2 separate regions of the Homo sapiens genome follow, and region 1 is linked to region 2. The links are contacts of gene promoters, found by promoter capture Hi-C in human tissues and cell types (Jung and others, 2019). All regions are on one chromosome and are shown on one strand. The core of a region is centred on a gene start or on the middle of the fragment in contact, and the rest is flanking DNA. Distances in the headings are between cores, read along the strand shown.

Region 1 (2,700 bases), core at 201-2,700, 150 kb before region 2:
ACTGGGAGTAGCCTGTGTGTCAGGCATTGTGCTATGCAATTTACATGTTATTATTTTGTTTGTTCCTGACAGCCACACTGTGAGGTGAATACCATTATTATCTCCATTTTATAGATGAGAAACTCAGGCTGGGATGTTGCCACTTTTTCAAAGTCACAGCTAGTGTGAAGTGTGAGTGGCAGAATCAGAACTCGAACACAGGCCCCTTGGATCCATCACCTAAGCACTTCGCCGCTAGGCTGCAAAGCCACTGAGCCGGAAGAGACATTTCAAATAAACACACTCAATAGATCTATCCTGGTGATTAATTAGTGATGAGTTGAAGAAAGAGATTGATTCAGAAATGCTTAAATCCTGGGGGCCTGGGAAATTCTGGTGTCTGACAGTGTCAGGGAAACAGAATCCTTCCCATGGCATGAACAGCACATTCCCAAGTGGCTTGTATTTCCCTAAGAGGTTGTGCATTTATTTGGAGCAGCTGCCTTCCCAGAGTTGGCAGCTCCTCGATGCTGGCTGGTCTCCTTTGCTGACAGCCTAGGGCTCTTCTTGGTGACTTGATGCTCATTGCTCACCCATGGGACACAGAAACCAGGGCTGCCAAAACCAGCCACCTAAACAAGCCCCCTCATTATCATTCAGGCTGGAAAACGACCTTGAGTGCTTTTCAAAGCTGTCAAAGTACACAACAGCTGTGAATGAGTTTGTCACTCACACAGCGTGGCTTCTTGAAACCCAGCCTCTGCAAGTGGCCCACCAAAGGGCTGCAAACCTGATTAATATCCATGGAGAAATTGGCCTTGGTGAACCACTTTCATTTATAAGAACACAGTCACATAAAAATGTATTGAACTTTGATTTTTTTAATTGCATACTCCTTTCCCTTTGGGAAAGTGTAATCATGAAGGAGACATGAAAATAGAGAAGTGTTACCAATTAATCTCTGCTCTGAATTGAAGTATTTTCAAAGATAACCCAAGCGGGGTAATCTCTGATGTAATCAAGGCTCACGCCTCTCTGACCACTTGAATCTTTTTTGTTCTGAGACATTTTTGAGGTTTGAGTGAAGTCCCACAACCTCAAGGTATGGGCACTATAGGAGATGTCAGGCCTGGGCATGTTCTTGGCTTCACTGAATGACAGGATTCATTTTCTAATTGGTCACCCTTTGTCTAAAGAAGATCAAGAACTACTTCACTTCTGTTAATGAATTTCACTGCATTCTTTAAACAGTTGTTGGTTGTCTGTTTTGTGGCTGGCCCTGTGCTAGGCACTGGGGACCCAGAGAATATATGTGTGTCCTGCTCTCCAGATATTGTCTGGTGGGGGAGAACAGGCAAAAGGATAGAGGCAATCTAGTGTGACAGATGTTTCAGTAGAGGAGAGGCAGGGCTGGAACAGAGGAAGAAATTAACTCTGCTCAAAAGAAAATGAAGGCCTTACAGATGAGAAAGAGTTTGATCTGGATCTGGAGTGAGTAGGAGTTTGCCAGGAAGAACAGGGCATCTTAGACATGGAAAACGATGTAGAAACACCCAAAACAGGAGACAACTGGACTCATTGGCATGATTTGATATGGAGGGGACACGGACAGCTGACTAGAAATAACGTGGATCTCCTCTTGGTTTAATCTCCTCTGCAAGGAGAGCCATTGAGGGGGTTTCAGTGGAGTGAGGAAAGGGGTGTCGTGAGGTGCCTTGTTTGTACTCACACTGGTTGTTCTGTGAAACAAGGGTTGGAGAAGGAGTTACTGGAGGTAGGAGACCAGTTAGAGGGATGTTGTCATAATACAGGTGATGGATGTTGGGGCCTGAACCTGGGCAGGGGCTATGGGTTTGGAGAGAAGCGAATGAATTAAAAAGATAGAAGAAAAATATGAGAAATTATGGAAACAGATCAGTCAAGGATTACTCATTTCTGGTTTAGACAAGTGGGAGGATGGGGCATCTATCTAACTTAAAGAAAGTGGAAGGCAGAGACAATTTTGTGGGCAGGAGATGAAGTTGGGTTCAGAGAACCCATGGGGGATCTAGGCAGCTTCATTATAGGGAGACTTGGCTGTGGATATGAAAATGGGCTGCATTTTAGGGATTTAGGAGGCAGAATTAATGGAACTATTAATCAGCCCTTGGCAGCTGAACCCTTGAAATTTGGCTCCTCCAAACAGAGCCTCCTGAAATGCTAGGGAAACACATGGGAACAAGGGCTGCGAACCTGGGATTTTATCCATGTAGACATGGCCGGTGTATTGTAATGTACCTCCAACAACAACGACAGTAACAATGGCTAACACATAGAGCTTACTATGTGCCAGGCATTTTTCTAAGCTCTTTGCATATATTAACTCAATTCATATATCCTCACAACAGAACTCTGAGATAGGTAGTAGTATTATTCCCACTCTAAAACAGAGGCTCATTGTTTTGCCCAAGGAGGTACAGACAGTAAGTGGTGGACCTGGGTTTGCCATAAAGCGGCAGTCCCAGGGCTGACTCTGCCTGTGTGTGTTTAAGATTTTAAGTACTATGACGATGCTGCTGATGAATACCGGGACCAGGTGGGTACCCTGCTGCCGCTCTGGAAGTTCCAAAATGACAAAGCCAAGCGCCTGTCCGTCACTGCCCTCTGCTGGTAAGTATAGGCATTGCAGCAAATGCAGAGCCCCTGAGTGCCCTCTACATCCCAAACCCCCAGTACCCCCTT
Region 2 (2,700 bases), core at 154-2,653:
AGCATTCCCAGTTTAGGAAACTGTTTTAAAATCTTGTGTCTTGGTTGTGGCTGAGGCTTTGGGAAGGCCAGAGCCCCCTTTGCCACCACCCCTAGGGTGTCAGCTCCAAGCCTGGGCCTGAGGGTTTGATGGGGAGCGGGTGAGCTGGATCCTGATCCCAGTGGTCAGTGGCCAGATCCTGGGCTGCTGGCCAGAACCCTGGCTTTGTGAGTGGCTGCAGCTTGGCTCTGCTCCAGCCCACAGGGGCTAAAGGGGCGGGTAGGGAGTGTGTAGGGAGCGTGTACGTGGCTTTGTGTCCTTGGCTCCTCCAGACTCTCACATGTGCGGGCACCATATACTTCTGCTGCCCTTGTGCCCCAATCATTGCACAAACAGAAACAGCTCTGACAGAGAAGGGACTGCTAGAGTTAGGAACCCTAGGGCCTGGAAGGAAGGTATGGCTCTCAGAGTGACCTGGGGTCTATTCAGTCCCCTCTGGACCTGTTTCCCTGGCAACGCTGTGGGAACAACAGTCTATGCAACACAGGAGACCTGATGCCACTGGTGTCCTCCAAATTTTAAGGCGAAGGCAGGCATTGTGAATGATGCAGGGATGGCCAGAATGGTTTTTGCCTTCGTTCTTTCCCCAGGGGAACCAAGCCTGTGGGTGGGGAAATCACACTAAGGCTGGACAGTGACTGAATCTGGCCCAGGAGAAACTTGGCTGCCTGCCTTCCAGACCAGGGTTTTTCTTCCCTGAGATCCTGGAGGGGAAGTACCTGGAACTTGGGAGTGTTGCCCTGGTCTGGAAGATCTGATAGACATAGTATGCACACATTTCCCTCGAGCTTCCCATGACTGGGGAGTAGATGAGAACCCTGAGTGGGTGGCTGGTTTCTTGAGGCATACATATACCCGACACACCTTACACCTCTGATTTGGCTGCATTTTGGAATCATCTGGGAAGTTTTAAACAATACTGGTGCCTAGGTCCAACCTCCAGAGACTCTGATTTAATTGGTATGGGGTGGGGTTTTGCAGTTTTCAAACCACAATATCCAGCAAAGTTTGAGAACCACTGCCCTACACAGCCCTCCTTCTTCTTTATCTTATCTGGAGTCAGGGGCACCTTCAGCTTCTCCAATCACCTGGCCAGTGGCTCTTGTTTCCAGTCCTGCTGTTCCAGGGTGGATAGGCCTTCAGGCGGAGACCCAGGAATCCAGCTCCAGACTCTGTCCCAAGCAGCCTCTTCAGTCCGGGACGGGACAGGAAGTGTCCGGCGGAGGTGGGGGTGGAGGTGATTGGCAGTTGGAGTCTCCAATGGGCCAGGAGCCCCCCTATTTCACTCCTCTCCTTCCATTGGCGCCTGGGCGGAGCCACCCCCGCTGCGGGGGCCCAGGGCGGGAGGGAGTAGAGGCCGGGGCAGAGGGCGAGGGCGAGGGCAGAGGGCGCTGGCGGCAGCGGCCGCGGAAGGTGAGGCCTGGTGTAGACGCCAAAGTCTTGTCAGGAGTGGGCGGGGCAGGGTGATGTATGATCTGAAAGGCCGGGAGTGACTAACGACTGTCAGTGTGTATGTGCCTGTGAGGCTGTGTCTGTGTGACAGTATCATTGTGTGCGATTCTGAGTGTCACTTGGTGCAGCTGTCAGCTAATGTGACTGCGTGTGTCAGTGTGCATGGAGCTGGAGGTGCATGTGGCTGTGCAAGTGTGGGATTATGTGTGTATCTGTCAATGCACATTTTTGGTGGGACTGGGTTGTGTGTTTGTGTGAGAGGGACTGTGACCACATGAGGGAATGTGTTTTGGGAAGGTCTCTGTGGGGTTTGAGACCATGTCTGCCAGCGTGAGAGTGGGTGGCTGGCTTTGTGTGTGCCAATGTGTGACTTCAGCAGTAGCAGAGCAAAAGTGAGGTTTGTGACTATGTGTGTGTCCTGGGTCCTAACTTAAACCGTGTGGGAGTACAGCTGTATTCATGTATTGGGGGACCTACCTCAAGAGCCCATGGGACTGACCTTTCTCTTAAGTGTCCAGCATTGACAGACACACCCACAACACACGTGGCTTCCCCTCCTTCCTCTGCTCAAGAATCCCCAGCATCAGGTCTACTGCTCCTTATTTTCTGTTTCCCTGCTTGGCTCAGTTTCCCTTACGTGCCGTTTTCTGTCCCTATTGCTGTCTTACTAGAGATACCTCTGTGTGTTTCTTCACAGCTTTGTTCCCCTGGTCTCTCTGTGTGGGTGCATTTCCAGTTTTGCCTTTCCTTTCTCTCTGTCTCTCTCTGTGCCCCTATGCCTGCCTTCCCTGCTGATCTTGATCTCTGGCTAGTTGGGGGCCTGTAACAGTGATGAGATGCGGGTCTGCCCCGGCTAAGAGCTCCCTGAGAGAGGGGGCTTAGACCATGATGAAGAGTTGCTTTTAGGCGGTGCTGTGAGCCCTGGTAGGGGCTGTGTGCGTGTGTGACTGCGTGAGTGTATGAATATGTGTAAGTGTGTCTGAGTCTGAGGCGGTGTGGCTGTGCCCGTGTGACTGTGAGTGACCGCATGTGAGAGTGTATGAGTCTGAGGGTAACTGTGGGTCTTGTGTATCTGGCACCAAGGGACCAAAGGCATTTCCTGGTGCTGGGGCCCAAAGAATGGAGGGGGAGGTGAGAAATGGCTGGAACTTCCAGGGGAGGGGGAACTGGACTCTTTGGCCTCTCCTTATATCCCCCAACCTGGGGCCT

What was found. Contacts are between HindIII fragments. The study calls those that stand out against the background at their distance.
Region 1: a fragment that was not itself captured here is called in contact with the fragment with the promoter of IL11RA in region 2 in 2 of the 25 tissues and cell types used here (bladder and dorsolateral prefrontal cortex).

What each region holds. Positions count from the first base shown.
Region 1 is chr9:34,498,212-34,500,911 of GRCh38, forward strand. DNAI1 (dynein axonemal intermediate chain 1) reads left to right here. Exons shown (of 20, transcript NM_012144.4): 11 at 2,511-2,628. Among named protein-coding and RNA genes, the nearest start is that of ENHO, 23 kb to the right of the region's middle. The HindIII fragment of the contact is 6,320 bases long and covers 1-2,700 here.
Region 2 is chr9:34,650,782-34,653,481 of GRCh38, forward strand. IL11RA (interleukin 11 receptor subunit alpha) reads left to right here and starts at 1,404. Exons shown (of 13, transcript NM_001142784.3): 1 at 1,404-1,452. GALT (galactose-1-phosphate uridylyltransferase) reads left to right here. Exons shown (of 11, transcript NM_000155.4): 11 at 1-254. RefSeq lists a silencer at 1,360-1,459. The HindIII fragment of the contact is 13,062 bases long and covers 1-2,700 here.